Linked DNA regions of Homo sapiens: all the other regions are linked to region 1. The links are contacts of gene promoters, found by promoter capture Hi-C in blood cells and fetal thymus (Javierre and others, 2016). All regions are on one chromosome and are shown on one strand. The core of a region is centred on a gene start or on the middle of the fragment in contact, and the rest is flanking DNA. Distances in the headings are between cores, read along the strand shown. Region 1 holds the start of HS3ST1 (heparan sulfate-glucosamine 3-sulfotransferase 1). Region 2 holds the start of ZNF518B (zinc finger protein 518B). Region 3 overlaps CLNK (cytokine dependent hematopoietic cell linker). Region 4 overlaps CLNK (cytokine dependent hematopoietic cell linker). Region 5 overlaps CLNK (cytokine dependent hematopoietic cell linker). Region 6 overlaps CLNK (cytokine dependent hematopoietic cell linker). Region 7 overlaps CLNK (cytokine dependent hematopoietic cell linker).

Region 1 (2,727 bases), core at 162-2,661:
TTTTTTAACCTAAAATAGACATGCCAACATTATTCTGACTAAAAGAAGTAGACAAGGTCATTCAACTCCTAAAAGCTTATTTTCCAAAAGCACAGTTAGGTCTCAGCTTTCAGGGTGCTTCTGGCTGTATCAAAAAGACAGAATATACTGGTCACTGTGTTGTTTTCTGAAAGTGCCGAGGGTAATCTGTGTATGAGTTAAAGGGCCAATTTCCTATAGGAACCTTCTCTTAGATGGGATTTTTTTTTAATTAAACAATGTTGGTGAAATATATTTAAACGTAAATCACAAATTCGAAGTCTTCCAAATATTTATTTACTAATGTGGAAGACATGGAAACTACAGTAATCTCATTTAAAGGAAGTTACTTTGATGTGCATTTGCTTTTGGCGGGGTATGATTGCTGACCTGCCTTTGAGGGCAACTTCCTTTGGCTCAGGTAAGCAGGCAAACCCGTTTCTCCAAGGCGATTCCAACCCCACGCCCCTCAAAACCTTAAATCTTAAATTGAGTTATTGGGTGCAGGTCCTTTCTCCCACAGAACCTCCCAGCTTCCGGAATAGAGGAGCGGGGCAGAAATATCCTGCTTTTTATTTCAGAGCTGACGTTTGCAATCCTAGTGCACTAGCGGAAAAAAAAAAAAAAAAAAAAAAAAAAAAAAGCTGAATTTTCCGCGCTCTCCTGGCAAATTGGCGTCCGCTCTCCGACGCTAAACCAAAGGAAAAGGAGTGTTCAATGGCGACAGGGCGCTCTTTGAAGCCGGCTCCTCACGCGGATTCTGGCCCAGGCCGCCGCTCCGGTCCCAGTCCGGCTGCAGAGCGAATTGGAGAGGATGGCACCTCCTGCTTCCCGGGGGGCGGAAGGAGCGCCAGCGCCTAAGGTGGGTCACCTGCCAGGAAGGGAATACGCATGGTGCAGACTCACGTGGGAGGAGCACAGGTCCCGGGTACAAGTGCCGAGCTGGCGACTTAGAGAAGAGGTAGACTCGGGCTCAGACCAAGCAGGCGTAAGGGAGTAGACGGGACGTCCCGTGTTTGCAGTGACGGCGGAGTCACCCATCCCAGCAGCCTCACCTTCTTGGAGCGCTGGTCCCTCCCCTTGGACTGAAACCCCAGGGGCCACCGCACCGGGTGGGCGGGACCGACTACTACCCGACCAGCCGCTGGAGCTGCGTGCCAGGCGGGGCTGTGCGGAGCAGCTGAGCGCAGAGCGGAGCACCAGGCACCTAGCGGGCCGGACTCTGGGCGGCACCCGAGCGGGCCGGGCAGCAGTGGGCGCTCGCGATCCTCCTCTGCCCAACGCGCTCTCCCTCCGGGCCCGGCCTCCTCCGTCCCCTCCTTTTGCTCCCGCTCCTCCTCCCGCTCCTCCCCCTCCTCGGGATTGAGCACCAAAACGCCCGCCTGCAAGGTCCTCTGCGCCCTGGCAGCCAGGAGTCGCCGCCACGACAGCCGGGTCTCAGTGGGTGCCTGCGCCTTCTCCCCGCCCGCCTGCCCCGGGCCATCCAGAAACTTGCTCTACCCGCCGCGGGTGCTCGGCAGTGCTGCCCATGGCCCAGCCTAGGAGCCTATTTAGGGCGCCGGACGGGCTGGACAGAGGCGCGGCTCAGGTGAGTGCGGCGCGCGCGGGGTGGGAGAGTGGCAGGACGCAGGTGTAGAGGGCTCCGAGGTGCCTTTGTCTGGCGTTCTGGACTTCGGGCAAGTGCAGAACCTAAGAAGAATCGAGGCTGGAGCAGGTGGAGTGGATGCAGAGGGAACCAGGAAGCAAAGGCTGGGGATTTTCCCATCCTCCTCACCTCCTGCCCTAGCACCTCTGCTCTGGAAGTCCCGAGGGACCGGTTGATCTGTAAGGACAGGGACCCAGATTTCTGACTCTTACTGGGTTGGATGTTTTCCCCCCCTGCAGAGTCGTGAGGTTCGCTCCTGCCGGCCGCTTCGCGACCGCAGCTTCACCATAGGACCCTGTAGGGCAGCGAGAGCGCAGCACTCAACGGATCCTGGGTACCACCTGGGGCCAGAAACTGGGGCGAGGACACAGCCCGCAAAAGTAACTCGGCTGAGGGAGCCTTTGGGGGTGGAGAAGCCTTGGTCGGGTTTGCCTTTGCATTTGGTTGGAGATAGGCATCTCCCAAAGAGAGAGATTGAGGTGACAGCCCTGACAATAAACCTCTCATCCCTAATGCCAATTACATGAGGGTCTTGATTTTTTTCTTGTTACTTTTTACTGATTTTTTTCCCCCTTCGTGGTTTTCTATTTCCGGGCCCTTGGGTAGTGGCAGCGGATGGAGGTGAGGGATGGCGGGGTGCGAACCCGCGGTTGGAACGCCTAGACCCCAGCTCCCAGGAAGGGTCTTATTCGCGGAGCTTGACCTCTCCAGGTGCGCTCTACCAGCCAGGGGGCGGACGGCGCGCTGCTCCTCCTTCTAGCCCCAGCCTGTCCCAGGAAGCGGAGGACAGACCCAGAACGTAGGCGGATGATGGGAAGAAGAAGCTGGAGCCAAAGCCGGGTGCCGGCGCGGGATGGGGTGTGCTGGGCTCTGCAGTTATAGGTCTATAACTCTGCAGTTATAGGCGCTATAGGTCTTCCATCTCTTTCCCTCCCCTGGGAGCCAGCGATTCCTCGCACACTCAGGGCGCTCTCTTGGGCCAAGGGTTGCATCCTCCCTCTTCCTCCTCCTTTGCAGATCCAGTGGTACCCTTGCCTCGCCTTGCGCGAGTCTCGCTCCTCCCT
Region 2 (2,727 bases), core at 101-2,600, 970 kb after region 1:
CAACTTGACCCTACTCTTGAGGGAGACTTTGAACTCTCTGGCATATTCTCTCTGATAGGTGCTATCTGCACATAAATGTGTTTTTCTGAGAAGAGGTTCCTTAGCTTTTCTGAGCCCTAGGAGATAGAAAACCAGGACCCTAGCAGCTCCCTGATCAGGACCGAGGTTAGGAGCACTGCAGCCTAGGGCAGGAAGAAGGATTTGCTCTCTGGGCTGCTATTTTCTCTGCCCAGCTCCTGATACTTTAGTGGTGGAGGTTTTGCCCAGCTGCTGGACTTGTGGCTGAGCCTGTCTTCTTCAACTCCGCTTCTCCGTGTGGCAGTACTGCCCAGGCCCACATCTCCTCCGTGCAGCATACTGGCCGCTGTCCGTGCACGCCGACCTTTGGCCGCCAACAGGAAGGTGATGGAAACCAGCCTTGCCCCGCCCCCGCCTCCAGAGCTTTGAAATAAACTTTAGCTGTTCATCCCGAAGAAACTGTACTTCCCAGTGACGCTGCTCCCATGCCTCAACCTGCCCCTGCTGGAGAGCTGTTTCACTTTGTGGGGAGTCACTGATTGTGCGGGACCTGGCAATATGGTCTTCTTCTTTCCTCTTAGAGGCTCTATTCTAAATATGTCTTCCTTCCGGACCGTAGATGCAGGTGTATCTAGAGGGCAGTTGGCTCGCCCAAAATAGCACCGAAGTCCAGGAGGCAGGAAAGAAACTCTGGCATTAAATGAGCTCACACCCTCTCCAGACTCCCACAGTCATTGTCCCCTCTGACCCTCGCAACGCCCAACTGCTAGAGGAGGCTTTGCGCCTCACATACGACCTTCCCCGTCTTCAGAAATGAAGACACTGAGAGAGGTCAGGGGACTTTCTCGCCAAGGTCCAGCAGCTAAGATGTAAAGGAGTAGGGAGAGTCAGGATTTGTACCCAGGACTTCAAGGCCATCTCCTTCACTGAAGCTCTCCAAGAAGACGAGTTTGGAGGCTGAGGACCTGAGCTCCTCTTCTCTCGCTTTCACTCACCCACTGCAGGACTGCAGGCTCCAGGGAGGCAGGCGCCAAGGCCGCCCTCCGCGGGACCCGGTACAAGGCAGGCGCCCCGGGATGGCAGACTGGGCCAGGACCGAAGCCGAATCCTTCTTTTGCCTGCGGCATGGCTAAATGTGGACCTCGCTCGCTACGGTGCGAACGTGTTGGGTCAAGCTCTAAGCCCAGAAGTGGGGCTCGGCTGGGTCTGAGGCTCCCCGCTCTGGACAGCTTAGAAGCCCGGCGGGGGCGGGCGCAGCCTTAGAGACCTCAGGCGCCGGCCTCGCTGGAGCCGCGCCGCCGCTTCACATTGCGCACGCGCGGGGCTGGCGCGGGCTCCGCCCCCCGGGTAGGGACCTACAGCGGGCGCGGCGCCGGCGGTCTGCGGCCGGCGGTGTAGACGCCCCTTCGCCGGGACCTGGCACCCGAATCCGGCCTGCCGGGTAAGTAGCTGAGCGGGAGGGCGAGGGCCCCCGGATCCGCGTGTACGTGACCGAAGCGCCAGCTGCGGCCGGGTCGTGGGGGCGCGCGGGGCGGGGGCCTGACGGGGCCAGGCCGGGGCGGGTCGAGCGGCCGCGGCCCCGCGTGCCCGCGCTGAGGGCTGGCGTCGTGGCAAGTGGCACCGGGTAGGCCGAACGCGGGCTCCGGCTGGTGGGCGTGGGGCACCGGCTGGGGTGGGGGCCCGGGCCGCGGCTTGGCGCGCGTTGAGCAGGTACGCGGGCCTGGCCTAGGGTCGGGGTCCGGCCCGGCGCCCCCAGCTCGCCTTTGTGCGCCGCGACCCCGCGGACTCGGCCGACGCGCCGGGGCGACCGAGGCGGGGGTGGCAGCGTCCCGCGGGGCCGTTCGTGTGGCGCCGCTGGCCCGGCCTGCGCTCCCCGCCCCCAGCGTTATGAAGGATGCCTCCTCCGAGGGCTCCTACCGTCCGCGCCGAGCAGGAAGTGTCGTCAGGAGGCCATTTTTAAAGCCTCCTGCGGGCCTCGGAGCTGAGCGTTGACGGTTTTGGTTTTCTTCGGTTGGAAGAACCCCGGCCTTCCCTCGCGGCGAGCGGGACGCGCCTGGGAGACGACGATGCGCCCGATGCACCTGGCCTCGTCCTCCGAGCGCCCAGGCTCAGGCGCGCTCGCCTCGGATGCTGCCTGCCATCGGGGGAGCGTGCCGACAATAAACTCGAAAACCAGCCTGGCATTGTCTTTCCTTGAGAGGGTCAGGGGTGGGCTCGTCCATCGAGGTCCTGCGCATCTTTTACGGGGGGCGAGGACATAGGAGGTTGAGAAGAGATGGTGAAGGTTTGAATTGTTCCAAATGCTGATGTCATTGTGGGACCTCCCCATACCGGCCTGCCCGTCTTATCTTGGTGTCTTTGGGGTTTGGGGCTCTGTAAAGCCAAGAAATTGCAGGGTTCAAAAGAATGAAAGTTTCTTAACCAGAAAGGAAAAGCCAAAAGAGCGAACGGGAGAAAACACTTAAGTCTTTATAAGTTGGGTAGTTAATGTATCCCGTTACAATACCTCTGACTTTAAAAATTGTAATAATGAACGATTTATCAACGTAACATTAAAAAAAAAAACTACAGAGCATTATGTCCTATTTAAAAGTACAAATCTACGTAGCTAAACTCTAATGTTGTGTTAGACTCTTTAAACCATCTTAAGTTTAGACTTGAAATCACCAAGAATTAAGACAAACCTGGGTCTCTAGAAGCTTGCAGTAC
Region 3 (2,727 bases), core at 81-2,580, 850 kb after region 1:
GTGGACAAAGATCCAGGCATGGGCAGAGCCAAGAAAAGAGGGCTCTAGACAGAGGGATGGTGTGTGCAAGCTCCTGAAGTAGCGTGAGCTGGGTGTGCTGGCAGACTCAAGGAGAGGCTGGCTGAAGCAGCTGAAGTCGGAGGTGAGAAAGAGGTAAAGGAAGAGTTTCATGATTCTTATTGCAGAATGCTGAGACAGGCTTTATTCCAGACAATGGAGATAGGTACGGGATTACCACAATGAGTGCAGTACGGGAGAGACTGGGCTCAACTCAGAATACAATACGGACAAGTGGAAATTTATAGCCAAGGTGTAGCAGGACAAGCTGCAGACAAAACCCCTCAGACACCGAGTTAAAGAAGGAAGGGCTCTATTCTGCCAGGAGTTTTGGCAAGACTCACGTCTCCAACAACCGAGCTCCCCAAGTGAGCAATTCCTGTCCCTTTCAAGGGCTTACAACTCTAAGGGGGTCCGCGTGAGAGGGTCGTGATTGACTGAGCAAGCAGGGGGTACATGACTGGGGGTTGCATGCACCAGTAATCAGAACGGAACAGAACAGGACAGGGATTTTCACAATGCTTTTCCATACAATGTCTGGAATCTATAGATAACATAAGCGGTTAGGTCAGGGGTCAATCTTTAACCAGGCCCAGGGTGCAACGCCAGGCTGTCTGCCTGTGGATTTCATTTCTGCCTTTTAGTTTTTACTTCTTTCTTTGGAGGCAGATATTGGGCATAAGACAATATGAGGGGTGGTCTCCTCCCTTAAAGGGAGTGGCGTGAGGGTCTGGGAAAGGAAAATTACAAAGAGGAAACCTCAGGGGTAAGGGAAAGGGCGGGGGCAGAGGTGGTTTCCGGCTAAACTGACCTGAAATGTTCTTGCGGAAGGCAGACCAGGGTGATCAGACATCACCAGAGGAAGGTGGCAGAGGAGGGCCCTGATTGGATGAGATATGGAGGCTGATCAGACATGGAGAATGGGAGATTCTGGCTAAACTGACTGAGCAGGAGTCTTGCAAAAATTGGACAATGCAGAAATGAATATGGAATCCCACAAGGTAGGGCCTCACAGAGAAGAGAGTTCAAGGTAGCCTGACTACAGTTTGGTCCAGGAGAGAAGAGGCTGAAAAGGGATGAGGTCAGAGAGCAGGGTGGGGCAGGTTGTGCTGAGCTCTGGGGGCCACACAGGGCACCTAGTCTGTATGACATGGGCCATGAGTGACATGAACTGATGCACGGTGTTAGGATCAGGCTTTAAAATTGCATTTTCCAAAACTCTGCACTGATGACACAGATAGGTACTCTAGGAGACTGAGAGATAAAAGGCAATTCCTTCCCTAAAGAACACACAACAAAAAAGTAATCAGATCCTGCCTATTCGTATTTAAATGTCATGGTGAGTGAGACAGAAAACATATGCGTTAACAATTCAGTGAGATTGATGTGGCCTGGAGTAGTCAGAGAGAAAAGCAGAGAAATGGGATCTGAAAGGATGATGAGCATTTGGGAAGCAAAGGGGAGGTGAGAGGGAGAAGAGGCTCCAGGCAGGGTCTGTACCCACAGACACAGAAGGGGCATGAAGCGTATTTGGGGAATCTGGGAGAGTCTCAGGCTGGAACGCTCGCCTCTGGTGAGAAAGGAGACCCCGCAGCTCCCCAAGAAGATGTCAGTATCATGACCGCACTCCTTGAGGCCAATTTTCTAAAATGAAATTATATTGAACCCTGAATTAAACAGTGGAGTTGTTTTCCTCGATAACGAGGGCCAGAGCAGATCCCCAATAATTCTGAGCTCATTTGCTCCTTCCGGGCCAGCTGGTCTTTAATGGGTGACCTTATTAATTTAACTCGATTCATGAGAGAGTACAAATTGCTGCTCTAAAGGGCTGGAAAACGTGTTGGTTTCTCTGCCAGGGATCTCAGTGGGGATGTAATTGTGCTGGGTCAGGAAGGTGTCATCAGTGCCCTAGAGCTGCTATCCAACCCCAAGGATGGGCTGGGACCAGGGGCAGGTGTAGGCAGGATTCTGTTCCTCCCAGCTCATTATTTCAAGGAGATTAGCTCTGTCTCATTAACACTTCCCATATGTACTGGTCCTAGGCAAATTCCAGAGAACTGTGTTTCCACTGAGCCAAATTTGCATTAATTTGTACATTACACCTTAGAAAAGATTTGGGCATGCTGATACAATTAACAACTCTTTATTTCATATTTTGGTAAGATAGGGGAATTCAGAGTGAAATAACTAATGTTTAAGAAAATAAAAGGCCAGGTGCCATGGCTCATACCTGCAATCCCAGCACTTTGTGAGGCCAAGGTAGGCGGATCATTTGAGGTCAGGAGTTCGAGAATAGCCTGGCCAACATAGTGAAACCCATTTCTACTAAAAATACAAAAAATTAGCTGGGTGTGGTGGTGTGCTCCTGTAATCCCAGCCACTCGGGAGGCTGAGGCACGAGAATCGCTTGAACCCAGGAGGTGGAGGTTGCAGTGAGCTGAGATTGCACCACTGCACTCCAGCCTGGGTGACAGAACAAGACTGTGTCTCAAAAAAACAAGAAAAAACAAAACAAAACAAAACAAAATGGGAAAATGATAAAGCCAGAGCAAGAAGTAGAAATGCTTATCACATCGTGGTCCTCCACAATACTTAGATGAAATTCAGAAATTTATCCTGAATTTCTTGGCAGCCAAAGGAAGAAGGGAAATATCCTTAAATCAAAGCAAA
Region 4 (2,727 bases), core at 68-2,567, 840 kb after region 1:
CACTTTGGGAGGCTGAGATGGGTGGATCATTTGAGGTCAGGAGTTCCAGACCAGCCTGGCCAACATGGCAAAACCTGATCTCTACTAAAAAATACAAAAATTAGCCAGGCATGGTAGTGGGTGCCTGTAATCCAAGCTACAAGGGAGGCTGAGGCAGGAAAATCTCTTGAACTCGGGAGGTGGAGGTTGCAGTGAGCTGACATCACCTCACTGCACTCCAACCTGGGCGACAGAGTGAGACTCTGCCTCAAAAGAAACTAATAAATAAATAAATAAACAAACAAACAAACAAACAAACAACAAGTAGATGCTCAAGAAACATTGGCTGATGGGGGAGTAGGAAGAAGGAAGAATCAAGGCAGAACCCTAGGTTCTTATGTTGTGGATAACCCTAGGATGCTGTTGATCTGTAGTATACCGAGAGCCTCCTATGATGCCTGGCACTTACTAGATACTTAAATAGACGTGAAAAAGAAACTTCAATAGGGAGAGAAGGATGGAGAAAGGAGGAAGAAGACAGAGACCAAGTGGGGAAGTGGGGGAGGCTCAGAGAGTGGATGAAGGGATTTCAGGAGTGGCTCTGCCCGCTAGAGGAATGTCTGAGCTAAAACATGTCTGGCAAATCATCCTGCTACTCTACTTGTCTGCTGCAGAACCCATCAGAGTGTCAAATATTTTTGTTTTTGTTTTTTAATATGTATTGGGAGCACTGATTGATAGCTTATAGGAACAGGACTATAGCTTATATAGACATGTTTTCTGCCCTCAAAGAACTTAAAGTCTAATTGAGGAAAGGAAAAAAACTCAAGTAAGGTTTTACAATATGAGATTTAAATAATAAATGAATAATTATATGTCATCGTCCAGATTTACTAAATGCATGATTCGAGTAAGAAGTGCCACAGGTTCTCAGAGGAGGGAGGAGACCAGACAGGCCCCGGCAGGGCAGGGTCTGAGGAGGTGGGAGCCTCACTCGGCCAAGAGGGTCTTGGGTGTATGAGCTTGATGAGAGTTGTGAGTGGCACTAAACACTTCCAGTGTTTTTCCCAGGTCCCCTTCAGGGAATTACATGCCCCAAATATTTCTTATACAAATAAAATAGGTAAGAGGAGAATTCTTGAAACCAATAGGGAATGCCTTCTAGAAAGAATGAACCCATGGATTCACTTATTTAAAATGAGCCTTGGCCTGATTCCACCTCAGAGTGAATTTCATCTGGATTGAGAGAGGCTCTCCAATCTCTAATCTTGAAAATGTACAACCGATTCCAGGGGAATTTAAGTGGCACTTGTGCACACACGTGGAGTAGTTTCCTACTACGTGCCAGGCACTCCATTGGCCTTGCTCGGATAGGACAGGTCCAGGTATAGACCCAGACATGATCTGCAGTGTATCTCTGGCCCGTCTCACTTTGGGATGCCCTCTTTTGTATATTTCCCTCTGCATGTGCCTGTGGCATTCATTCACTCACACATTCACTCACTCTTACCCATTCAGCACCACATTGGTGTGCACATGCTCCAGGCACTGTGTTAGGCACCAGACCTCCCATTTAGGAGCTAGAGGTTCAGGGTAGGCAGTCTGAGAATTCCAGTTGCATTCTGTTCTAGTTATGTCAGTGTGAGTTCCATTACATAGGTACCAAGAATATGCCCAAATAAGGAGAAGAGGGCATTGGTGGCCACATGGGAAACAAGATAAACGGTCTGTCCAGGCCATCATACCTATTCCCTAGAATATTACAGAGTCCACTCCTCTCTCAAATCAATGCTGTGTGTTCCTACGTTACCTCTGTGAGACACAGTTCTAAGCATCCTTTACTCTTGCAAACCTCCACACGACCTCTAGGATGACACAGGCTTTGCTCATTCATCCCTCCAGATTCCCTACTGTCTGAGCACACTGTGCATTTCCAAACCATAGTCCCCACAGCTCCATGGTGCAAACGCTCCACCTTTGAGTGGTGGAGAGATGTGTCATCAGACAGACTCGGTGGCACTCCCAAGAGGGCTAACCTCAGCTAATCCATCTGCAAAATTAAAGGGTTCGTTTATGGTGTTTAATGTCCCTTTTGGCACTAGTGATATTTTACAATGGCCCTAAAATTGAGATAAAGATGCTTTCCACCAAGAATTGCTATGAGGTTTGAGTGAAATCATTTTTGTACAGTGCTCAGTTCCAGATGCAGTGCAGACGTTCAACTAGAGGAAAGAAGGTGATGAATGCAGAAACTTTCCATCCTTCCTTGTTTTTATCTAGATTATATTTAAAATGAGTAACTCTTAGAAGTACAAATTGTCTTTCAAAAATCAGAGAATCTTATTCTAGAGTAGCCTTCTAATGTCAGGGGGTGAACTTAAAATGAGATGTGGAGCTGGGCCAGTTAATTTCAGAGGTTTGAGAGAGAGAGAAGGCTGGCAGTGTGAAATCACCCTGATCTTTTCCCAGGGGTTTCGCTGCTGAATTCTGGACTAACAGTCGGTGCCTGGGGAGAACCAAAGGACTGCATACCACACTCAAGGGGGCAAAGAAAGATTCATCTCCATGCCAGGAGCTTGACCCTGGAGACAGAACCAAATCCCTCTCTATGGGACTGGAATAACACACCATCCAAACTCTGTTCCCATGGATAAGTAGAAGGCAAGCATGCCCTGTCTACTTCATCAAAGCCAGTTCTGCTGGGCAGCAGGAGAGAGAAGTGGAAGAGGGGGCGGAGTTTACTTTAGT
Region 5 (2,727 bases), core at 87-2,586, 810 kb after region 1:
AAGCGATTCTCCTTCCTCCTTCCAATCCCAAGTATCTGGGATTATAGGCATGTGCCACCATGCCTGGCTAATTTGTGTATTTTTTAGTAGAGACAGGGTTTTGCCATGTTGGCCTGGCTGGTTTCGAACTCCTGGCCTCAGGTGATCTGCCCGTCTTGGCCTCCCAAAGTGCTGGGATTACAGGCATAAGCCACCGCGCCCAGCCTCTTTCTTGTTTTTTAAGAGTCTCACCCTGTTGCTCAGGCTGGAGTGAAGTGACACAAACTCGGGTCACTGCCGACCTCCACCTTCTGGGTCCAAGCAATTCTCCTGCTTCAGTCACCTGAGTGACTGGAATTACAAGTATGCACCACCATGAGTGACTAATTTTTGTATTTTTAGTAGAGATGGCGTTTTGCTATGTTGGCCAGGCTGGTCTCGAACACCTGACCTAAAGTGATCTTCCCTTCTTAGACCTCCCAAAGTGCTGGGATTACAGGTGTGAGCCACCGCACCCAGCCCCTTCTTTGCTCTTCTAATCTCTGTTATTAGTGCACCCAGAACTGATAGCAACCAGATGACCTCTGTGATTAGGAGAGTGGGTACTCATAGGAAACAATCACAACAAGGCTCTTTATGTATTGATTTTTTGATCCTTACAACAATTCTGTGACATGCTGTCATCAACTGTATTGCAGATAAGAGAAATAAATCCCAGAGGGATCACATCAACTTCCTCCAACTTGAATGTGCACACAGATTCCGTGGCCTCTTATTACAATGCAGATTTCGGTTCAGTGGGGCTGGGGTGGTGTCTGGGATTCTGCCTGCCTAACCAGCCCTTGGGAGATGCTGCTGGTCTGGGAACCACACTTTGACTAGCAAGAAATGGGAATTCTCAGGCTGAAAAACAGATCTGGCCAGTTAGCCAATTCCAAATCCCACACTCTTAATGTCGATGATATTCAACCTTCTAGAAGAGCCTAAGTCTGCGGAGGAGAGTTCCTGGAGAAACAACGGCATCATAGATATCTGTAGAACCAAGGATGAAAACTCAGCCTTACTTAAGGGAACCAGGGCTCTATGTGGATAAATCTAACATATCCAGGTCACCTGGCATCTCTGTAATGACAGTGTTTACCATTATTTGAGCCACTCATCAACGTGCTAGTTACCATACACACAAGATGTCTAACATCCCACAGAAATTTCCTACCAGCAGGCTCCATGCAGACATCTCACCCAGACATCTGCCAGGGGAGGAGAATTTAATCACTACATTTACTGGAGTTTGAGCCAGAAGACTCTCAGAGCCCAAATAATCTAAATTCCTATATTACAGCTGGAGAAATTTCAATGTGGAGAGGGCAGGCACACTATGAGTCCGATGTTGCTCTCTCAATCTCCAGTTGGTATGGTGGTTGCCACTGAGGGTGGCCTGGGCATTCAGGGTCCTTGGTCAGCACCTGGCTCCCTGCTTCCTCTGGAATCTTAAGCACATTCTCCAGGTGAGACAGAACCTATCCTGCAGGTTGTCAAAGACAAAGCCACAGAGTCAGATGAACTATTCAGGATGGAACAAGGGAAAACATACAAAGTGGGCTTGCTTTTTTAATGGTTTCCAAAAGAGCAGACATTCAGGAGAGATTAATTCTGTGGGTGAAGTCTCAGCTACTACAAAGAGAGTAACACCTCCCCTGCTCCCACCCTGTTCCATCTCCTGCTGGGGTTGTGGCAATAGCTTCCCAAAGGGTCTCTCTGCTTCCACTTTATCCCTCAATGACATACCTATTCTCTAGCCAGAAGACAGAGAGATCCTATTGAGTCATAATTGTTATCTTTGTGTTCCTGTGTCTGAGACCCTGACATGGCTTCATAGCCATGGCCTAAGTCTAGTGCCTCTCAATGACTACAGACAGGGTATTGTCACATCTGCCTTGATTCTCCCAAAAGGCTCTTGGACCATCTTCCCCATCCATCCCTGCAGGCATTCCAGTTCAGCCACGTGGACCTCATTACCTTGATTCAACTACTTAGCCACATTCCTGCCTTTGAACTTTTCCTTCAGTTATCCCACAGCTGATGTGCCCAGTGCCTTTTCCCTGTTCCCATCTTTCCAGCAAGGCTCACCTTGACCACCCCAAGGACTATTCATACCCACCTGCCCACCCCACCCAGCACTCTGATTCCCCCACCTGCTCTACAGTCCTTCCAGAGCACCTTATCACCTGCTAACATGCTATACCCATTCCTGATTCATTCTGTTTACTGTTATTGTTGTCCTTCTCTGTTCCATGGATAGAGATCCTTTTCTGCTTTGTTCCATAGGAATTAGCCATCTTCTTTATTTTGTTCACTGATATATCTTGAGCACTGAGAGTAATTCTCGGCCCACATTGAGCACTAAGAAAAAAATAAATGTGTTGTTGAATTCATTTTGGTAAAAATTTCTAGCCTAAATACTTACTGAGGACTTGTTCTATTCCAAGCATGGTTGTAAGCATTTTGCATGCATTATCTCATTTAATTCTTACAATATTCTCAATATGTAGCAAAACCTAAACACCTTCGATGCCAAATGCTGCTATTAAACAGTCCCTGGGGAACACAGATGAGATATAATGATTGACTCCAACCCTGGCTTCCTGGGTTTGATTATCTTTTGATAAGTGCTTTGAAAACCCATGTCTCTAGACAACATGATAAGATAGATCTGCCACACCCCAGAGCTCATCAGCATGGGAAATC
Region 6 (2,727 bases), core at 158-2,657, 800 kb after region 1:
TCTTCTTATGGGCCTTACTAATGACCCTGATGGACTCTGTTTCTCTTCTCTGAGCTCTGGCACCTTAAAAATGCAAGTATTATCCAAGGGGAGTGACTTCAACATGATGACAAAGGGAATGGCTCAGGGTGAGCCCATCAGTCTGCACCCAGCTCTACCTGTGTGATCTTATACAGGGGGCTTAACTATGCTGAATCTCATTTTCCTTGTCTGTAAAATGGGAGTTCTCATTCTGACCTCACTAGTTGGCCTAAGTATTAATGGGAACTCAGTGCATAGCTATTACCATTATGCAACTGAGCACCCAACATTGTTTAGCCTTTTCCAGTACAACCAACCACAAAGGGCTGATATAGGGAACAAATGAAATATTGTATGTGAAAGTGCATAACAATATCTAGCACTGATTATGGCAATAGTATGATTGCCAATTCTATTACCATTATGAGTGACAGATTCTGTCTGCTTCTGTATATACAGCCAAATTACATTTGTACTGTTTGGAATGGTATGGAGCAGTTATAAATGAGTGAAGTACAAGGATGACAGAATTCTTGCTCTTTGGAGACCTTGCAGATAGACACCTACGAGCATTGGTTCTAGGCTCAGATGTTCCTGGATTAGGCATGGGTCTCTGTCAAATTGCGTCTCTCGTTTTCTTCACCTGCAAACCATGATCACAATTAAATTCACCATATAGGGAATGGGAATTAAATGGGAGAATGTAGATGAAGCGTTAACCTATCATCTGGCACAGAGTAAGCGTTCAATAAATCTGTGCTTGCATCAGATGCTCTGGGAAAGCTGCAGCCCATCAGTCGCAACAAAGCTGATGAAGATGGTAACACATGCACAAAGAATAACGCTGTCGACTTGAGAGAATGCACATTCTCTAAACTTAAAAACTTTTAGCTTTGATTCTAGCAGGGAAAGGAATTTCCAAATTTAAAATTTTCCAGGCCAGGTGTGGTGGCTGATGCCGTAATCCCAGCACTTTGGGAGGCCGAGGCAGGCAGATCACCTAAGGTCAGGAGTTCGAGACCAGCCTGACCAAACTGGCCAAACCCCATCTCTACTAAAAATACAAAAATTAGCCTAGTGTGGTAGCACATGCCTGTAATCCCAGATACTCAGGAGGCTGAGACAGGAGAATTGCTTGAACCCAGGAGGCAGAAGTTGTAGTGAGCTGAGATCACGCCCCTGCACTCTGGCCTGGTTGACAGGCCTCAGTCAAAATAAGATAAAATGCTTATCTTTTCTCTGTCTCAAAATAAGATAAAATGCTTCTGTTATGAGTTAGCTAGCAGCCTCATCTGCTTATTTGGGCCAATTTTGAGGTATTTTTAAATAGTATTTAGTTCCTAATACATGACGAATGCAAAAGTAGTGAGAGCATTGAAAATTGTGCAAATGAAAATTGAGAATTTTTCTGTGAAAACTGAATAAAAATGACAAAGGTAACATGGGTGTGTGGCATGATCTTTTCAATAGTAAGAACATTCTTGAAGACAAAGAGAAAGTCTGTTGTGTTTAAAAAGGGGGGCAATGTGCACCAATGGCATTTAGCAAGAGATGAGCTGAAGTGAATGTCAGGCACTAGGCTAGACCTAGGGGTACAATGATGCACAAAAAAAGATGACCCTGCCCTTGTGGCATTTCAACTTAGTACAGGAAATGAATATTCCACAAATAGTCACACAAAGGTTGTAGATGTTAAATGAAAGTTGTATAGTCTGATATGCGTGGGATACTGTGCATGTTGCCTGGGCAGAATTAGAAGTCCCTCCCCCTCTCCTGATGTATTCCTGTTGAATTCCTGCTAAGGGCTAAGGACATTGTCTTCACATTTTGTGGGCTTGGAGATAGAAAAAGATGATGGTGGACATGGCAGAGGTCAGATGGAGAGAGGTGGAAAGACTCAAGATAGTTTGGAGGGAAAATCTCCAGCATTGGTTATGAACTGGTCCAGAGGCATGAGATGGTCAAGGACGATGCCTGGACACTCGTACTGTACAACTGGGGAAAAGAAGTTGCCATTCACTGAACCAAGGAAGTCTGGGAAGATGGAGTTTTGAATGTTAAGAGTTACGTTTTGGATATTTTAAATTTTACATGCTTATCAGTCATCCAATTAGAGATAGCAGGTAAACACCCTAGACAAGAGCTATTCATGCCTTCAGCCACCATGTTATACTGCAACTCAATCTGTAAATCAGGTAATGCGCACCTTGAGCCTTCTATTTCAGAAACAGGGGTAGGTGTTTAAATAAAAAGACAGACCTCAAAAAAAGACATATTTGAATCCTTACCCAATTGTCCAATAGCTGTGTGACCTCTGAAGGAGAATTGAGAAAATCCTTTTGCCTGTGTGAGCTTCACTAAAAAGTAAAGGTAACTTCTATGTCATAGAGTTGCTTTGAGACTAAAAAGAACATTTTCTAATTGGCAGACACTACAGTTGAAATATTTTCCCTTTCACTTGTTCGTTTCCCTTTCTCTCCTCTATATCTTGGTTACTTGGTAATGAGGCTAGAATGAATTAATATTAGACACGAATCAAAGATTACTGAAATTGTTCTGTAATGTTTAAAATTATTTGCTTTACCCCTAGTTCCTGACCATTGCATATACATGTCTAGATTAACTGATTGATCAACTGCCTATCCACCAAGGGTCCTCATCTTATTTTCACATAATGCAAAGATCTGCAAAACTTACAGCTGCCTG
Region 7 (2,727 bases), core at 171-2,670, 780 kb after region 1:
ACATCCTCTTCAGCATCTGTTCTTTCCTGACTTTTTAATGATCGCCATTCTCACTGATGTGAGATGGTATCACATTATGGTTTTGATTTGCATATCTCTAAGGACCAGTGATGATGAGGTTTTTTTCATGTTTGTTGACCGCATAAATGTCTTCTTTTGAGAAGTGTCTGTTCATATCCTTTACCTACTTTTTCATGAGGTTGTTTGTTTTTTTTTCTTGTAAATTTGTTTAAGTTCCTTGTAGATTCTGGATATTAGCCTTTTGCCAGATGCATAGATTGCAAATTTTATATGTCAAACCTTCCATTGAGGATTGCATTTTTCAGTATGAAGAACAAAATTTGGAATTTTTTTTAAATGAAAGCATATAGTAAGAAAAGACTTTTTAATGCTAAAAAAGCCTTTATTTTCTTACAATGATAACTTCATTAGAATTTATTAGACATATAATTTCAGATTGACAGTTGTTTTCTCTCAGACTCATAAACTTATTTCTTATTCCCTTTGGCAAACAACAGGTATTAATGAAAAATAAAAGCTTTTGAAGGCAATATTTATTTTCTCTCTGGATGCTTTTAAAATCTTCTCTATGTTTTTTGGTTTTCTGTAGTTTTACTATAATATGGATAGATGTGAGTTTTTTCTTATTTAACCTGCTTTGGATACGTTGGATATCCTGATTCTCTATTTTGTTGTTTTTCACTATTTCTCAGTACTCTGTCATTATCTCTTTGAGTATTTTTTCCTCTCATTCTTTCCCATCTTTTTCTGAAACTTTGATTAGATGTATACTAGACCGTCACGTTTTAGCCTTCATCTCCCAACCTTTCATTCAGAGTTTCTATTTCTTCACTCTAGCCTGAATGCTGAATGATGCATTTTAAGGATTTACATATCAGTTAATGAGTTAAGTATCTTTATTTGTGTCTAAACTGTATTAAACCTATAATATAATTTTTTTCACAAATCTACTTGATCATTTTTATGTCTCATTTTTATTTTTTATATGAAAGTTCCTTTTCCTTAGTTAAACATAATATGTACACTTTGTTCATGTGTCCACTAATGGATATATGGCTGTAACATTTGTCCACTAGTTTTAATATCTAGACTGAACAGCTAATCCTGTTGTCTGTCATTTCTTCTAGTTCTCACTTTGCTGCTGTTATCTGAAGCATTTTTTTTTTTATTTTGTCTGCCTGCTCATATTTCTTACAAATTAACCCATGGGAATTCTTTGAGGCCTGGGTTGAAATTGTGCTCCCCCAGAGAAAATTTGTATTTGTTTTTTGGGGTGCCTAAAGGAACTATTAAAACAGGCCTTCCTTACATTACTCAGATTGAAGGTTTCTAGACAATCTAGGCTGGAATCCCATGCATATTTGTTAATTCTCAGGAGGAAATTTTGTCCCTTAAGTATCAATGTTTGAGAGTAGAGAGGTAGGCTTATTTCTAGTTCACCCTTACCCTGAGAGAGCAGCTCTTTAGGGGCCAGTTTTACACACAGGTGGGCCTCCTATTAGACTCCTTTCCGTCACTCTTCTGCTAGATTATTCCACAGTGTAGAATATGTGAGCTTTGTATCAAGTCTCCCATGTTCTGCCAGGCCATGAAAATTAAAGGCCATTTTCCTCTGTGTTGGCAAAGCAACCAAGGAGAAAGCGATTTCAGTTCTTTGCTTCTCTTTCTAGGTTCTCATCTTTATTCACCTTCATTTAGATTTTGGACTCTCTCTGAATAGTCCCTGCTTTTGGCATCTATTAACTGAAAATTAGTTGCTTAAAAAACTTTGCTATTGAAGGTTAATCATGATATCTGTTTATTATGCTACAAGAAATAAACAATATTCTCCCTGTGGAATTCAATTTTTTTATTTTAATAAAATTATAGTTAAAATAGAAGGAAGTAGGATTTTACGTTTTTCATTCAATCATTGGTGCTCTTATTTTTACGTAAAGAAAAGTAACACATCTGTTCTTTGCTTAACGTGATTCACTAACGTTTTACAAAGGCACCTTCAACGAGCATGAATTAAGCTCTTACTGCATGCCAAACTTTGTGCTCTTCCTATTCAAATACATTATCTCAATAGATTTAATCTTCAGAGATAAAGGATTCAAGGGCTAATCTATATATTAAGATGCAAAAACCAGATCTCCCTGGTTTGAGAGATGAAAGAGTGGAATGAGCACTGACCCTCTCATTGTCAGGGAAATGTGAAGTCGATAAGATGCATGAGATGATTGAGATAACTTTGAGAAGAATTTTATTAGTACTGAGCTTCTGTGTTCTTTCAAGCTTTGGGCATGAATGTCTAGAAGAATGGAACAAAGGGGAAACCATTGACTCAGAACCAGAAAGCCAGAGCCCTCATTTTCTCTCCACCTTTCACAAGCTCTGTGAACCCAGGCAAAACCTTTACTCTGTAAGCCTTGGATTTCTTCATCGGAAAAAGAAATACTATAACTTCTACCAATTTTCTCCACCATCTTTCATATGACCATGCTTGAAGTAGCAGAACATTTGATCATGAAGATAGATGACTATGGCTGCTGTGACAAGAGATTATGTGAGAAGAGATTAAGCCTTGAAATAAACCAGACCACAGTTCCAATCTTTTCTCTGCTAGATAAGAGTTACATGATATAATGTATGTAAAGCACATGAGAAATATGTGGCATTGCATGACACTTAATTTTTAGTTCTTTGATCTTGGAGTCCTAAGAC

What was found. The method cuts DNA at HindIII sites, captures the fragments that hold promoters and counts their contacts. A CHiCAGO score of 5 or more calls a contact.
Region 2: a contact is called between the fragment with the promoter of ZNF518B here and the fragment with the promoter of HS3ST1 in region 1, in 12 of 17 cell types (fetal thymus, M1 macrophages, total B cells and 9 more). The highest score is 13.9, in fetal thymus.
Region 3: a fragment that was not itself captured here is called in contact with the fragment with the promoter of HS3ST1 in region 1 in 16 of 17 cell types (total B cells, naive B cells, M1 macrophages and 13 more); the score reaches 19.9 in total B cells.
Region 4: a fragment that was not itself captured here is called in contact with the fragment with the promoter of HS3ST1 in region 1 in 15 of 17 cell types (total B cells, naive B cells, M2 macrophages and 12 more); the score reaches 22.6 in total B cells.
Region 5: a fragment that was not itself captured here is called in contact with the fragment with the promoter of HS3ST1 in region 1 in 7 of 17 cell types (total B cells, naive B cells, megakaryocytes and 4 more); the score reaches 18.3 in total B cells.
Region 6: a contact is called between a fragment that was not itself captured here and the fragment with the promoter of HS3ST1 in region 1, in 8 of 17 cell types (total B cells, naive B cells, M0 macrophages and 5 more). The highest score is 13.8, in total B cells.
Region 7: a contact is called between a fragment that was not itself captured here and the fragment with the promoter of HS3ST1 in region 1, in 3 of 17 cell types (naive B cells, total B cells and monocytes). The highest score is 6.7, in naive B cells.

The regions. Positions count from the first base shown.
Region 1 is chr4:11,427,578-11,430,304 of GRCh38, reverse strand. HS3ST1 (heparan sulfate-glucosamine 3-sulfotransferase 1) reads left to right here and starts at 1,411. Exons shown (of 2, transcript NM_005114.4): 1 at 1,411-1,606. RefSeq lists a silencer at 1,266-1,445 and an enhancer at 1,536-1,755. The HindIII fragment of the contact is 3,893 bases long and covers 78-2,727 here.
Region 2 is chr4:10,456,049-10,458,775 of GRCh38, reverse strand. ZNF518B (zinc finger protein 518B) reads left to right here and starts at 1,350. Exons shown (of 3, transcript NM_053042.3): 1 at 1,350-1,459. RefSeq lists a silencer at 1,235-1,874 and enhancers at 2,005-2,164, 1,427-2,242, 2,225-2,284. The HindIII fragment of the contact is 4,989 bases long and covers 1-2,719 here.
Region 3 is chr4:10,572,667-10,575,393 of GRCh38, reverse strand. The region is part of intron 4 of CLNK (cytokine dependent hematopoietic cell linker); the gene reads left to right. The region is part of intron 3 of LOC105374481 (a long non-coding RNA gene); the gene reads right to left. Among named protein-coding and RNA genes, the nearest start is that of CLNK, 110 kb to the left of the region's middle. The HindIII fragment of the contact is 6,904 bases long and covers 1-2,727 here.
Region 4 is chr4:10,590,266-10,592,992 of GRCh38, reverse strand. All of the region lies in intron 3 of CLNK (cytokine dependent hematopoietic cell linker), which reads left to right. Among named protein-coding and RNA genes, the nearest start is that of CLNK, 93 kb to the left of the region's middle. The HindIII fragment of the contact is 5,413 bases long and covers 1-2,727 here.
Region 5 is chr4:10,612,676-10,615,402 of GRCh38, reverse strand. The region is part of intron 2 of CLNK (cytokine dependent hematopoietic cell linker); the gene reads left to right. Among named protein-coding and RNA genes, the nearest start is that of CLNK, 71 kb to the left of the region's middle. The HindIII fragment of the contact is 7,189 bases long and covers 1-2,727 here.
Region 6 is chr4:10,631,468-10,634,194 of GRCh38, reverse strand. All of the region lies in intron 2 of CLNK (cytokine dependent hematopoietic cell linker), which reads left to right. Among named protein-coding and RNA genes, the nearest start is that of CLNK, 52 kb to the left of the region's middle. The HindIII fragment of the contact is 3,385 bases long and covers 1-2,727 here.
Region 7 is chr4:10,648,343-10,651,069 of GRCh38, reverse strand. The region is part of intron 2 of CLNK (cytokine dependent hematopoietic cell linker); the gene reads left to right. Among named protein-coding and RNA genes, the nearest start is that of CLNK, 35 kb to the left of the region's middle. The HindIII fragment of the contact is 1,760 bases long and covers 541-2,300 here.